Linked DNA regions of Homo sapiens: region 2 is linked to region 1. The links are contacts of gene promoters, found by promoter capture Hi-C in human tissues and cell types (Jung and others, 2019). All regions are on one chromosome and are shown on one strand. The core of a region is centred on a gene start or on the middle of the fragment in contact, and the rest is flanking DNA. Distances in the headings are between cores, read along the strand shown. Region 1 holds the start of TPSD1 (tryptase delta 1). Region 2 overlaps UNKL (unk like zinc finger).

What was found. Contacts are between HindIII fragments. The study calls those that stand out against the background at their distance.
Region 2: a contact is called between a fragment that was not itself captured here and the fragment with the promoter of TPSD1 in region 1, in 2 of the 25 tissues and cell types used here (liver and lymphoblastoid cells).

Annotation. Positions count from the first base shown.
Region 1 is chr16:1,252,535-1,260,175 of GRCh38, reverse strand. It overlaps TPSD1 (tryptase delta 1), which reads right to left and starts at 4,107. Exons shown (of 5, transcript NM_012217.3): 1 at 3,814-4,107; 2 at 3,489-3,660; 3 at 3,114-3,379; 4 at 1,954-2,117; 5 at 1,168-1,844. The coding sequence starts at 3,895. The coding sequence ends at 1,800. The HindIII fragment of the contact is 12,300 bases long and covers 1-7,641 here.
Region 2 is chr16:1,363,816-1,371,456 of GRCh38, reverse strand. It overlaps UNKL (unk like zinc finger), which reads left to right. Exons shown (of 15, transcript NM_001372107.1): 12 at 1,100-1,327; 13 at 3,599-3,801; 14 at 4,108-4,365; 15 at 5,062-7,641. The coding sequence ends at 5,217. GNPTG (N-acetylglucosamine-1-phosphate transferase subunit gamma) reads right to left here. Exons shown (of 11, transcript NM_032520.5): 11 at 7,344-7,641. It also overlaps the pseudogene TJP1P1. Among named protein-coding and RNA genes, the nearest start is that of GNPTG, 16 kb to the right of the region's middle. The HindIII fragment of the contact is 7,351 bases long and covers 764-7,641 here.

The DNA.
Region 1 (7,641 bases), core at 2,858-5,357:
GGCTGCAGGTCAATGTGTGGTTCTGGCGTCCGCTCCCCCGGGCCCCCAAAACCAGGGGCTTCCTCCTCTGCCCCTGTGCTTTCGGGACCTCTGCAGGGCAGAGAAGAGGTGGAAGGTCAAAAGGGAGGGTCTGGGGAGGCTCCTGGCTCCTCCGCAGAAGTTTCTGCAGGTGAGCGGCTCGGGGACTGGCCTTCACCCTCCCACCTGCCCTCGCCCGCCCTGCCTGTCACTCCCGGGGATGAGGGTCGGGAGGATCCCCACAGGGCAAGGGCTTCAGGGCAAACCCAGGCTCTGAGCCTCCGCGCAGAAACCACATCTGGGTTTATACTTTCTCCCACGCCCCTGGTCTTTCCAGAGTGGGGCAGAGCAGAGCAGTTGGGGCGCCCCAGCTGGGGGAGTCACTGCACTTCAAGGCAGTGGGGGAAAGACTCCCGGGGTGTGGACGGGTAGGGCACTGCCCTTTCTTTCCCGGGGAGCTGGCTGCCTCTGACACTCCTCATGCTTCCCTTCCTGGGAGAAAGCGGGGAGCCCCAGGCCAGGTTGCCGGCTGCTCTAAACCCAGGGTGAGACCTGCTGGACACAGCCCAGGGCCTCAGGGGACGTGACCACAGCCCGCGTCCCAGGGCGCTCTCGGCGGGGGTCCAGGGTCCAGCTGCACCCCGCCACCTCCCAGGGGGCTCCTGGGTCTCCCACACTGCCCTGGCTCCCTGGGCTTTCTAAGACAGGCAGCGGGCAGTGATCAGTGCCATTCCCAAGTCCTCCGAGCCACGTCCCCGCCCAGCCGGACCCCGCTGGACCCTGCTCTGCCCTGGCAGCGTTCAGAGTCCCTCCCTTGCAGCCCCTGATCTGTGCGACTCACAGGACACCAAGACCCAGACGGGAAGCCGAGCACTCACACCCTCAGTGCGGCCACGGCAGGCTTCCGTGTTTGACGGAGAAATCACCTCCCGCTGCCGGGAGGAGACCGAAATTAATTGCTCCTCCTCCAAACCGGGAGCCACCTGTGCCCCCACTCGCCGACCAGGGCAGCTGAGGAGGCCCCACCCCACAGTGACTAGTTGTGCCTCGGGGTCCAGGACCCCGCAGCTCCTGCAGCTGCCCCGAGACATGCCTAGACCCTTCCTCCCCCGTGACACCCACGACCAGAAACACAGTGACGGCCACACCTGCTTTCCATCATGCACTTTAATGAGAGTCAGCACTAGAGAGGATGGGCGTCCACCACCAGCTGCCTGGGCAGGGGAGGGCCGGAGGGGCCGGGAGGGGCGGATTCAGGGTTGGGGAGGAGGCTCAGGATGGAGGAGGGGGCAGGATGGAGGAGGGGGCTCAGGATGGAGGAGGGGCTCAAGAAAGGGGAGGGGGCTCAGGATGGAGGAGGGACTCAAGAAAGGGGAGGGGGCTCAGGATGGAGGAGGGACTCAAGAAAGGGGAGGGGGCTCAGGGTGGGGGAGGGGGCTCAAGAAAGGGGAAGGGGCTCAGGGTGGGGGAGGGGCTCAGGATGGGGGAGGGGATCAAGAAAGGGGAGGGGGCTCAGGACAGGGGACAGGGCTCAGGATGGGAGAGGGGACTCAGGATGGGGGAAGGTGTGGGGGGCAGTCACCACCTGGGTAGGAAGCAGTGGTGGTTTGGACAGGAGGGGCTGGCCCTCCAGTGACCCGGGTGGACACCCCAGGCCTGGCTCAGGGCTTCTTGGGGACATAGTGGTGGATCCAGTCCAAGTAGTAGGTGACACGGGTGTAGATGCCAGGCCGGTTGGGCTGGGCACAGCTCTCCTCCCAGCTGACCACGCCCGCCTGCAGTTAGGTGCCATTCACCTTGCAGACCAGGGGCCCTCCAGAGTCACCCTGGGAAGGTCAGAGGTCAGTGCTCGCTGGCCAGGCTTCGGGGGTCAGGATGAGGGATGCGCTCGCTGGCCAGGCTCCGGGGATTGGGGTGGGGGACGCGAGGGCCCACCTGGCAGGAGTCGTGATTTTCGCTCCCCGCACACAGCATGTCATCGCGGACGATTTGAAAGCTGTGGCCCGTATGGAGGCCGGTGTGATATTCCGCGTTGCAAAGGTGGTTTTCCACTACGGGGACTTCCACCTCCTTCAGCGGGTATGGCGGCGGCAGGTGCACTGGGGGCGGAGGGGGGCGTGGAGCCGGGTCTGGGGCCGGCTGGGTGCTGCTTCGTGGACTTGGTGGCAGAGTCACGGGCAGGGGAGATGGCACCATGGGCCCAGTGCTGTTCTGTGCCTGCAGCCCCGGGGAAGGGGCGGTGAATGCAGTCCAGGCCCCTCCGCTGAGGCTGGTCCTGGGTCCCTGGCCTCATTTAAGCCCCATCTGGGGAAGGGAGGGGAGGGCCCTGGAGGTTGCCAAGCTGGGCTCCATGGCACGGGGGTGCAGAGCCCGACCCGTGTCTCCCCCTGGGCTCAGCTGACTTTCGTCTGGGCTAGGCCCATGGTCCACGGTTGGCCCTAGCCGAGGGGAACACAGGGCGCTGGGCTCAGCTTCCCCGCTGTGTGGGGCGGAATAGCGGGACAGTGGCTCAGGCCCCTTCTGAGTGACCCAGAGGTCACAGCCCAGGGTTGCCGCTCAGGCTGTACCCCAAAGCTTTGCTCTGAATTGTGGATAAAATGGGGACAAGACCTTCTAGAAGTGAAAATGTGCCTCGTGGAGGGCCACAGTGAGCTTCGTCCAGCCCCCCACAGCACTGCCACGACCCCGATTCCCAGGCCCCTGCCTTGTCTGTAGCACAGGGATGGAGGGCAGGCAGGTCTCATCCCAGCACCGGTCTCTCTCCTTCCAGCAAGACCCCCGTGTGATTTCTCTCTCCACATAGCAAGTCCGTGACGTACAAACTTTTGATGCACCCTTTCAGGCAAGGGGAAACCGAGGCACGGAGGTGCTAAGGGACTCTCCAAACCCCTGGGGTGGGGGACGCCCAGGCCCTTTGGACTCACCGTCTCTGCTCAGGGCACCTGCTGCCTCTCGCCACCGCCTGCTCCATCCATCCTGGCCTCCACAGTCCCCCTCCCTGAGCCGCCCTGAGGGACCCTGTCACCCCACGGACTGGCCTGTGGCTGTGACTTGGTGCCCACCTGGCCCGGCCTCCCGCTGTCCCCAACACCCACCATTATTGTCCACGTCGCCCCAGCCAGTGACCCAGCACGGCATCCCCGGGGGGAAGGTCTCCGAGGCAGGGGGCAGCGTGACCGTGTGGATGTGGCTGGAGATGTTCACGGGCTCCTCCAGCTCCAGCAGGGCGATGTCCGCCCCGGTCTGGATGATGTAGAACTGTGGGTGCACGATGATCCTGCTGACCGGCAGCAGCTGGTCCTGGTAGTAGAGGTGCTGCTCCCGCAGTTGCACCCTGAGGGCGGCCAGATCCTTGATGTCCCTGGGCAGCGGAGGATCCCACTCAGGGCCCTGGGCAGCCCCCAGGAGCACCCGGGAGCCAGGGCTCACATCCAGCCCTTGCCCACCCCTCCAGGCCCCAGGAGACTCACGGTTCCACGCAGTGCGCCGCGGTTAGCACCCACTGGGGGTGGATGAGGGAGCCCCCGCAGAAGTGCATCCAGTATGGGCCGCGGACTCTCAGGCTCACCTGCCAGGGCCACTTGCTCCTGGGGGCCTCCTGCCCCCCAACAATGCCCGTTTGCTGCAGGGCCTGGCCTGGGGCTGGGGCAGGTGCCAGGTCAGGACCAAGAAGCCGCCCCACGCCTGGGACCAGCCCTTCCCTGTGTGGGGGCCAGCCCGGCCTCCCCAGAACCCACCCAGGCCCTGATCTGTGGAATGTGGTGAGGGGCAGGGTGGACCCCGGCTGGGACTCACCAGGGGCCACGTAGGCCGGGCTCGCCAGGACGGGCAGCGCCAGCAGCAGCAGGCTCAGCATCTGGGGAGCAAGGAGGAGCATCGTGGGCCTGGCCGGGCCTCACAGGGCAGGGCTGGGGGCTACAGATTGTGGGGTGAAGAATGGAGCTGGGACGGGGGGACCGGGGTGGGTCCAGGCCTGCGGGCCTGGGTCTTGGTGCTCTGAGTCTGAGGCTGGGCCACTCTGCTCCAGGTGACGCTGATGTCAGGGTCTCTGAGAGTAGGGACTTACCCTGGCCACTCCCTGTTCCTTCTACCCAGCGGGCTCTCCCCTCCCCATTTATGCTTCCAGATCAGGAGGGGGCGGAGGAGGGGCGCTGGGTCCTCCCATCCAGACTCGGAGGAAGTGGATGACTCAGACCCAGGGCCCCCGTGTAACACATGCCCCCGCCACCCCGATGCCCTCTGTGTGTGGGGCTGCCAGGCAGGCCCCGCCGAGGGCTGAGCACTGGAGGCTCGCAGCTCCACCTGTCAGCTGGTGGATCCCAGCACTGGAACCCACCACCTTCCCGCTGGTGGGATCTGCTCCTGCCCCTGTCTCGGTGCCAGGAGGCCTTCAGGCATAGCTGCACCCAGGTGGCCTGGCTGCCCCAGGCTACAAGACCCGTCGCTCCTGAAACCTGTTTCCCCAAGAGGGACACGGGGTGAGGAACTCATGTCCATGGGCCACCCTCCAAGAGACGGGAAGGTGCCCACGGGGTGGGGACATGACGGGTGACACCCCTCCTACGGACTCCGAATCCACGGGGGTGGGGCCAGCCCTCCTCGACTCACTTGGTTGGGGGCTCACATGAGACCCCTTTGTCAGATGGGGAAACAGCCTTGAGAGGGGACAGCACCAAGTGTCCTCAGCCAGGAAGGGGCCCTGCTCCCCACCTCCCGTATGAGACCCAAGTCCTCCAACGATTCCTCAATGTCCACCTCTGGGGCTGTCCGTGCAGGTCCCCTGGTCTGCAGGTGCCTTCTTATCATGGGATCTGAGCTTCATCCGCAGAGGGAAGGGCAGACAGGAGTGCAGGTGCAACCCCAGGAGACCCAGCCCAGCTCCCCATGGACTCACCCCCAGCCCCAGCCCAGCTCCCCATGGACTCACCCACAGCCCCAGCCCAGCTCCCCATGGACTAGTCCCAGCCCCAGCCCCAGCTCCCCATGGAGTAGTCCCAGCCCCAGCCCCAGCTCCCCATGGACTCACCCACAGCCCCAGTCCAGCTCCCCATGGACTCACCCCCAGCCCCAGCCCAGCTCCCCATGGACTCACCCCCAGCCCCAGCCCAGCTCCCCATGAACTAGTCCCAGCCCCAGCCCAGCTCCCCATGGACTAGTCCCAGCCCCAGCCCAGCTCCCCATGGTCTCACCCCCAGCCCCAGCCCAGCTCCCCATGGACTAGTCCCAGCCCCCGGCCCCAGCTCCCCATGGACTCACCCCCAGCCCCAGCCCAGCTCCCCTTGGTCTCACCCCCGGCCCCAGCTCCCTGTGCTCTCCATCCCATTCAGCGCTGACACTGTCCCTGCAGCTCCGTCCACCCCACCTCCTGACTCACCTGGGCCTGTTGGTCACTGGGGCCTCCAGCCCACCTCCTCTGCTTCTGAGCCCCAGGACCCCCTGCCTGCCCCCCGACCCCCAACACAGGGCCACTCCGGGGCTCCTCCTGCCCCCACCCTGCCTGGGACCAGCCTGGTTTGAGGCTGACTCTGCACTGCGGGGCCATATCCATCTGGACTCCTTCCGGGCTGCACCCCCCGGGGGACAGGCAGGGGTGGCCCAGACCGCTCCTGCTCATGACCCTGCTTCTCCTCCATTCTCTGGACAAACTCCCCAGAGGCCTCCACCTGCCCCGTCCTGGTTCCATGAATGAGGCCCACAAGATGGGACCTTCAGGAGCCCAGGAGGTGAGGGGATGGGGTGACGGGGGACACCAGGGATGAGGGTGTGGCAGGGACACGGGAGACACCAGGGCTGACGGTGAAGAAGAGACTCAGGGGACACCAGGGCTGGGAGAACCCAGGGACACACGGGGACACCGGGGCTGTGGTGTGCAGAGGGCTCTGGGACCCCCGAGTCAGGGGCTCTGGGGCCGCTCCTCCTAGGAATGCTCCGATTGGGTCAGGCCTGGGAGGCGGACCAATCAGCACCATGGGGATGCGAGAGCCTTGATTGGCTAACACTGGGCCAATCAGGGCGCGTCCTGGGCACCCCGCCCCGATCCCCGGCCGCTCCCCTGGGGCTGCTGCAGGGCTGGGGTCCCAGGCCATTGACAGACACTGGGCAAGAGGCCACGTGGGGCAGTGTCCCCGAGAGAAGGGTGGGGAGTCGGGTGAGACGACAGTGGCCGCGCCCAGACTCAGGGCAGCGATGGGAAACTCAGCCCCAGGAGCTTGCTGGGCTGGGGAGACGCACCTGGCGCGTGCAGAGGCCCCGGCAGCCATGACTCACGAGGCGGAGAACTGCACGGAGAGCTCCGGGCATCCGCAGGGGGTTCCCCCCGGCGTCCTCGGCCGAGTGCCGGAGATGCAGAGAGACGTGGGAGCCGCGTCGGAAACGAGAACCACCAGATGAGAGGGGCGGAGTCCGGGAGTGCGCGCGGGGCTGGGGATATCGCGTGTTCCCAGCAGCTGAGTGGAGAAACCTTGTCAGAGGCAGGCACTGGAGAGTCCTCGGAAGGGTATGGAAGGGTACGAGGGGAGAAAGTAATCCCGAAACCAAAGGCTTCTCCGGACCCACCCTCACAAAGCTGAAAAGCAAAGCGCAGACGGATCCAAATGATTGCAAGTGACTTAACTGCCTGTGAGAACACATCTCAAAACGATGTCAAGGAATAGAACACAACCCAGCACGCAACAAAACACTCCAGAGAGTACTCACGAGATCCGGGGGCTAGTCAAGAACGAGCGGGTGGCCGGGCACGGTGGCTCACGCCTGTCATCCCAGCACTTTGGGAGGCCGAGGTGGCAGATCGTGAGGTCAGGAGAACGAGACCAGCCTGGCCCACATGGTGAAACCCCGTCTCTACTAAAAATATAAAAATTAGCCGGGCGTGGTGGCACGTGCCTGTAATCCCAGCTACTCGGGAGGCTGAGGCAGGAGAATCGCTTGAACCAGGGAGTCAGAGGATGCAGTGAGCCGAGATCGTGCCACTGCACTCCAGTCTGGTGACAGAGCAATACCGTGTCTTAAAAAAAAAAAAAAAAGCAGGCATGAAAAAGGATGACCTCCCAATAAAAAAAATCAATCATGTTCGGGCGTGGTGGTTCACGCCTGTAATCCTAGCACTTTGGGAGGCCGAGGCGGCTGGATCACCTGAGGTCAGGAGTTCAAGACCAGCCTGGCCAACGTGATGAAACCCCATCTCTACTAAAAATACAAAAATTAGCTGGGCGCGGTGGCTCACGCCTGTAATCCCAGCACTTCGGGAGGCCAAGGCGGGTGGATCACCTGAGGTCAGGAGTTCGAGACCCCCCTGGCTAACACAGTGAAACCCTGTCTCTACTAAAAATACAAAAAATTAGCCGGGCGTGGTGGCGGGCACCTGTAGTCCCAGCTACTCGGGAGGCTGAGGCAGGAGAATGGCGTGAACCCGGGAGGCGGAGCTTGCAGTGATCCGAGATGGCGCCACTGCACTCCAGCCTGGGCAATGAAGGAGACTCCGTCTCAAAAAAAAAAAAAAAAAGAAATGTGAAAGGAAGTTCTGCAGGAAGAAGATGATAAGAGATGAACATCTAGACCTAGACTAAGGGAAGATAAGCTCTGGAAATGGAAACAGCTGTGACTGTGTAAGACAGTTTTCTCTCT
Region 2 (7,641 bases), core at 3,190-5,689, 110 kb before region 1:
CGGAGGATCGCTTGAGCCCGGGGAGGTCAAGGCTGCAGTGAGCTGAGGTTGCACCACTGCACTCCTGCCTGGACCACAGGGCAAGACCCGGTGTCTGGTTTTCGGAGCGGGAGGATCCCCTTCTGGCGGTACCTCCTCCTCCTCTCCCTGACTGCCTCTCCCTTTCCCTCCCCTGCACATGGACTCCTCAGCATCTCTCCTGCCTCGGGCCTGCCCACTTCTTCAGTTGACCTTTGTCCCAGCAAAGTGGCCGCGCAGAGACAGGCGGGGCCTTTCCTGAAAGTCTTGATGGTCCCCGAAGGATAAATGTATTCACATTGTAGACAAAAGATTGACATCCATACAAATGTATCTTTTTTTTTTTTTTTTTTTTTGAGACAGAGCCTCGCTCTGTCGCCCAGGCTGGAGTGCAGTGGCGCGATCTCCGCTCACTGCAAGCTCCACCTCCCGGGTTCACGCCATTCTCCTGCCTCAGCCTCCGGAGTAGCTGGGACTACAGGTGCCCGCCACCACGCCCAGCTAATTTTTTGTATTTTTAATAGAGACGGGGTTTCACCATGTTAGCCAGGATGGTCTCCATCTCCTGACCCCGTGATCTGCCCGCCTTGGCCTCCCAAAGTGCTGGGATTACAGGCGTGAGCCAGTGCGCCCGGCCCCATACAAATGTATCTTAACATCGTATACAACATCTTTTCATTCAGCCTAAAAGTGTATCTTTTCTTTCTTTTAAAAGAAAGTAAACCATTTCAGGGGGCCTGGACAAGTGCTGGGAGGACCGTGCCAATGGCTTAGTTGGCCGGCAGGGCCTGGTGGGTGTCCGGCCTCTTTGGGGGGGGCCCATGTTAAACCCCCGTCTCCCCACCTCTGGTTGGAATCCCTTTGAGCCCATGGCTTGCCCAGCTGTGTTGGACATGGCCACCGGGGGCGCTGTGGCTCCAAACACATAGATGGTGGTGGCTGGCCTGGCCCCTATATTCCCACCCCCCATATCCCCACCACCACCACCTGCAGGGTCCGTCTTCCACGGCTGCCGCCCATGGCAGATGTTTGGGCAGAGGCCTGGCGGTACTCCCTTCGCTGACTGGTCCGCCCCCGCCAGGTCCCAGGTCGCTGGCCGGCTCTGCACCTGTCGCCATCCCCGGCTCCCTGCCCAGAGCACCATCGCTACACTCGCCATCCTCTGCGTCCACCTCGCCGCTCGGTTCGCTGTCCCAGCCCCTCCCAGGGCCGGTGGGCTCCTCAGCCATGACGCCTCCCCAGCAGCCGCCACCCCTGCGTTCAGAGCCGGGCACACTGGGCTCTGCAGCCTCATCCTACAGCCCCCTAGGTGAGTGCCGGCTCCCTCCATGCTGGCGTTGCCGTGAAGCCTCCGTGGGGCTCCCTCCCAGATGCCGTCCTGACTGAGGGGCCTCACACGGAACCTTGTGCCCTATCTGTGGTGGCAAACCACATGACCTGCTGCTCACAGGTTCCCCCACGCCGCAGACCGAGTCTCGCTCTGTCGCCCAGGTTGGACTGCAATGGTACGATCTCGGCTCGCCGCAACCTCCGCCTCCCAGGTTCAAGCAATTCTCCTGCCTCAGCCACCCAAGTAGCTGGGACTACAGGCGGGCGCCACCACGCCCAGCTAGTTTTTGTATTTTTAGTAGAGATGGCGTTTCATCACGCTGGCCGGGCCGGTCTCAAACTCCTGACCTCGTGATCTGCCTGCCTTGGCTTCCCAAAGTGTGGGATGACAGTGAGCCACCGTGCCCGGCTATTTGTTACGTTGTAAAAGAACTAACACTTGGTCGGGTGCAGTGGCTCACACCTGTAATCCCAGCACTTTGGGAGGCTGAGGCAGGCGGATCACCTGAGATTGGGAGTTCAAGACCAGCCTGACCAACATGGAGAAACCCCATCTCTACTAAAAATACAAAATTAGCCGGGTGTGGTGGTGCATGCCTGTAACCCCAGCTACTGGGGAGGCTGAGGCAGGAGAATTGCTTGAACCTGGGAGGTGGAGTTTGCAGTGAGCTGAGATTGTGCCATTATGCTCCAGCCTGGGCAACAAGAGTGAAACTCCATCTCAAAAAAAAAAAAGAGAAAAAGGCCCGGCGTGGTGGCTCACGCCTGTCATCCCAGCACTTGGGGCGCCGAGGTGGGCGGATCACGACGTCAGGATATCGAGACCATCCTGGCCAACATGGTGAAACCCCGTCTCTACTAAAAATACAAAAATTAGGCGGGCGTGGTGGCACATGCCTGTAATCCCAGCTACTTGGGAGGCTAAGGCAGGAGAATCGCTTGAACCCGGGAGTCGGAGGTCGCAGTGAGCTGAGATTGTGCCACTGCACTCCAATCCAGCCTGGCGATAGAGCTAGACTCCATTTCAAAAAAAAAAAAAAAAAAAAAAAAAAAACTAATACTTTGGGCCAACATAGTGGCTCAAGCCTGTAATCCCAGCACTTTGGGAGGTCGAGGTGGGTGGTCACTTGAGGCCAGGGGTTCAAGACCAGGCTAGGCACCATAGTGAGACTCCTGAGTCTACAAAAAAATACAAAATTTTAAAAGTTTTTATTTTTTTAAAACAAAGTTTCACTCTGTCGTCCAGGCTCCAGCAATCTTGGCTCACTGCAGCCTCTGCCTTCCGGGTTAAAATGATTGTCATGTCTCAGCCTCCCGAGTAGCTGGGATCACAGGTACCTGCTACCACGCCAGGCTAATTTTTGTATTTTTAGTAGAGATGGAGTTTCACCATGTTGGCCATACTGGTCTCAAACTCCTGACCTCAAGTGATCTGCTGGCCTCGACCTCCCAAAGTGCTGGGATGACAGGCCTGTTTTTTTTTTTTTTTTTTTTTTTTTTTGAGACGGAGTCTCATTCTGTCGCCCAGGCCGGACTGCGGACTGCAGTGGCGCAATCTCGGCTCACTGCAAGCTCCGCTTCCCGGGTTCACGCCATTCTCCTGCCTCAGCCTCCCGAGTAGCTGGGACTACAGGCGCCCGCCACCACGCCTGGCTAATTTTTTGTATTTTTAGTAGAGACGGGGTTTCACCTTGTTAGCCAGGATGGTCTCGATCTCCTGACCTCATGATCCACCCGCCTCGGCCTCCCAAAGTGCTGGGATTACAGGCGTGAGCCACCGCGCCCGGCCTGTTTTTTTTAAGTAACATTTAAACTATTTCAGTCATAGTCTCTAAAGCTGCATAGACATTGGCAGTCACCACATGGACACAGCTCTGTGGGGTCTTTGAGAGTCTCAGTGTGTGAGGGGTTCCTGGGAGTGGAGTCTGAGAACCACTGCCCCTCCCACCTCATGGTGTGGTCCCAGGAACTTGAATTTAATTCCTCTCTGTTTAGACTCCTCAGGTGGCCAGGAAGGCGTAGATCTGGTGGGGAGACCGGCCGGGGCAGGTGTCACTGTCAGCGCCTCTTCCTGAGCCTGGTGGGGTCCAGGAGTGGGGCAAGGGGCAGGCGTGGCTGCACCCCTGCTGCCAGGGCAGGTGAGCCCCAGAGGGTGCCCACGTAGCGGTGGGGCCTGGGGCATAGCACCCACCAATCCCACCAGGCCGCGAGCACAGCAGGGCTGGGCCGTCATCGACCGTTTCACACTCAGGTTTGAACGGTGTCCCCGGGAGCATCTGGGACTTTGTTTCCGGCAGCTTCTCCCCCAGCCCCTCCCCCATCCTGAGTGCCGGCCCCCCATCCTCTTCGAGTGCAAGTCCAAACGGAGCTGAGCTGGCCCGGGTCAGGCGGCAGCTGGACGAGGCCAAGAGGAAGATCCGGCAGTGGGAGGAGTCCTGGCAGCAGGTGAAGCAGGTGAGTGTGTGGGGGGGCCAGACAGGTGAGGGGGAGGGAGGGCCGCAGGGGACTCAGGTGAGCGTGTGGGGGTGAGATGGGAGGGGAGGGAGGGAGGGCCGCAGGTGACTCAGGTGAGCGTGTGGGGGGTGAGACGGGAGGGGGAGGGAGGGAGGGAGGGAGGGAGGGAGGGCCGCAGGGGTCTCAGGTGAGGGGGCCACAGCTGATGCTGGGGAGGGGAGGGGAGGATCGCTGGTGACACAGGCAAGAGGGTCTGCAGGTGGCACAGGTGAGGTGGGGGGTGCTGAGACGGGCCCTGGGTTTCAGGTCTGCGATGCCTGGCAGCGAGAGGCGCAGGAGGCCAAGGAGCGTGCCCGTGTGGCCGATAGCGACCGGCAGCTGGCGCTGCAGAAGAAGGAGGAGGTGGAGGCACAGGTGAAGCAGCTGCAGGAGGAGCTGGAGGGCCTGGGCGTAGCCTCCACACTGCCGGGGCTGCGGGGCTGTGGGGACATCGGCACCATTCCCCTGCCGAAGCTGCACTCGCTGCAGAGTCAGCTGCGCCTGGACCTGGAGGCGGTGGACGGCGTGAGTCCTGCTCTGGGCAGGGTGAGGGGCCAGCCTGCCTGCAGGGCTGCTGTCCCTGTCTGGGGAGGGCCCTGGCTGGTGCGGTGTCCCCTTCCTCCCCTGCCCCAGGGTCTGCTCCGGGCCTAGGGAGGAGGAGACGGTGCCCCACCCCAGCACAGCCCCCTGTGGCCTCCTTGCCTGTCTCCCTGGGAGCCGCCTTTCCTGTCAGGCTGGCCCTTGCCCTTTCACCCCTCCCTCTTGTCAGCGAATGCCACACTGCTCCCCGTGGCCCCATCCCTCCCTGTTCACAGCTGTGACCCTCACACATGACCCCTCCACTTCGGCGTGCCCCTCCTCACCTCGCCTGCTAAGGGTGGGCTCTTGGACTCGCTGCTATAGGACAGAGGGTCCTGCGTAGCCCACATCCTGGGCACCCAGCTGCCCTCAGGGGCCTGGCCTGTCTGGCCACTGCCGTGTCTGTGGTGGCCCCAGGAGGCTGTCCTCTGCCCAGGGCTCTTAAGACAGAGCATACCCCCTGACCCCGCAGCTGCCTTCTCCCTGAGGTGGCCCTGGCTGGGGCGTCTCCCTGACCCTGTCTCTGTAGCTGGTGGCCGGGCGGCCTGAGATGCTGAGTCCTGCCCGGAAGGCCCTCCGGCTCCCCAGCTGGCCCAGCCTGGGCAGGGGCCTCCTGAGCCCGTCATTGTTCTGGCCCTGCAGGTGATCTTCCAGCTCCGCGCCAAGCAGTGTGTGGCCTGCCGGGAGCGGGCCCACGGTGCTGTCCTGCGGCCCTGTCAGCACCACATCCTCTGTGAGCCGTGTGCGGCCACCGCACCTGAGTGCCCCTACTGCAAGGGCCAGCCCCTGCAGTGGTGACCTCAGCGGGGACAGCCACCTCCTGCTGGGCACCCTGGCTCCAGCGCTCCTCCTGACCACGGACATGTCGTCACTCGCTTCTGGTGCCACCGACGTGAGGACCGAGGCTGGGAGCCCTTCCTGTTACACGTTATCATGAGGCTGGGAGCCCCGCCTGCGCTTGGCCTGACAGCCTTTCCTGTCACACGTTGTCACCTATCTAGTCCTACCGACGGTTTCAAGGTATTTTCCTCAAAAACCTTAAATGCAAACCCACAGAACCCGCCTGCCTGTCCCTGAGGGGCCTGGTGCCTCCGGGATCCACGCGGCGCTGTGATCACAGCAGTTTGTGGTCCTGACACTACTGTGACTAGGCCACTGGGAGCTGGGGTCTTTCAAAGCACTTTGTAAACCGAGGAATTTAGTTAGAGGTTATAAATTGCTCTAAGCTGCTTTCTGTTTTTTTTTAATATGCGATAATATGAAGCTTTATATGTGTACTGTGAACTTAAATATTTCATATCAGTTTATTGTCAATTCATAGTATGCTAAATATATTAGATTTCATATTCTGAAACTAGTACTTATGAAATGAGTGTTTATCTAGTAGTAAGACCTAGGATTTTTACATTTTCCAATTAAGTGCAAATAGTATTTATAAGCAGAGTGATTATGGATTGAGATGTTTTTAACTTGATGGAAGGAGCTAGTTTTCCTGAGCCTGTGTGTGCACCAGGCACTGGGGCTGATGTTCCAGCCTCGTGGCGTGGGAGCAGGAGAGCTCCGTCCTGCATTTCTGTGGTCCGTGGCCGCTGTTTCTGTGCGCCTGCGCCTCGGAGAGCAAGTGAAGGAGCATCATGGGTTTTGTTTTCTCCCTTAACCCTCTGAAAGACAGTTTGATACTAACAAAAAACGCAGCAGAGGGGATCCGACGTCAGAGCTTTTAGAATTACTTTTTTAAGCAGCTGTCTTCTGGCTGGGTGCGGTGGCTCATGCCTGTGATCCCAGCACTTTGGGAGGCGGGTGGATCACCTAAGGTCAGGAGTTCAAGACCAGCCTGGCCAACATGGTGCAACCCCGTCTTAGTAAAAATACAAAAATTGGCCTGGCGTGAGAGCGGGCACCTGTAGTCCCAGCTACTCGGGAGGCTGAGGCAGGAGAATCGCTTGAACCTGGGAGGCAGAGGTTGCAGTGAGCCGAGATCGCGCCACCGCACTCCAGCCCGGGTGACAGAGCGAGACTCTGGCTCAAAAAAAAAAAAAAAAAGCTGTTTTCTGATTACTCAGAGCTGTCCTAGGCAATGGTGCTTTGTAGCTCCTTGGAGATGTCGCTGGGCGTCCTGGCAGGGGTCAGGCAGTGAACTGGGAGAGTGGTTGCCTCCCCAGCACCCGTGACCACCCTGGTCCTGCTCGTGTGGGAGATGCTCGGGCCGTGTGTGCGCCAGGGTCCGGGGTGCCGGGTGTATGTGGCAGTCACCTGACCCGCGCTGCCAGTTATCATCGGAGCTCATCCATGTGGCCAGTGAGGTCACAGGAGAGGACCCGGCCACAGCCTCTCAGTGGCCTGGAGCACACGGGGGAAGCGACCCCCCCCAGGTCCCGGCTCTGCTGTGGTCCCCTGTCCCGTCTGCCCCTGGAGCGACAGTGTGGTTTCGGCCGCAGCAGAAACGTGACTGAGAACGCATCCCCGCGATGACCTGACCCTTCTGCTCAGGGCTGGGACTGTCCCTAGGAGTTGAGCAGGAACAGGCATCTGTGGTTTACGGCGACCTGGCTCTCCGCGGGCCACGTGGGTGGTGAGGGCACACGAGTGGGAAGCGGCACCGACGTGTTTCTCCCCGACCGTGGCTTTGCCAAAGACTTTTAATAGCATTTTTTAAGTGCAAAACGTCTAGGTAAAAATCTTTATCATCAGTGACCAAATTAGAATGTATTTAATATAGTAGGTGGTTTAAGAACTGTTTTAACGTAAGACAAACTGATAGCAACATTCTGTTGTTTTAAAGGAAGTGGGTCCGTGACATTCTGCAGCTAGTCCACTACTCCAAGGTAACTATCGACTTGGTTTCAGTGAATCTATTTTGTTTTTAACTACAGTGATTTATTAGCTCAGTATCTAGAAATTACGTATATTTTGTGCTACTGTCATCGATGTGTAAACTCTGTTTTTATTTGTATTTATGCACTTGGTTCCCATTTGGAGCCTCTGGTCTTTTCTGGGATAAGTGGTGTCTGCCGAGACATCTCCCGGTTGTCAGTGGTCAGGAGCAGCTGAGCTCTAGTCTGCCAGCTGCTCTGCTCTTTCTGGGAAGGAGGTGGCGCCCGCCCCTCAGGGTGTCTCCAGGGCTCAGCTTCCGGGGTGGTAGAGCTGGGGAGCCCCAGGGGTGGGGGGACAGCTGGGAGATGGAGGTGGCACCTGCTCCCCTAGATCAGTACTGGCTCTGAG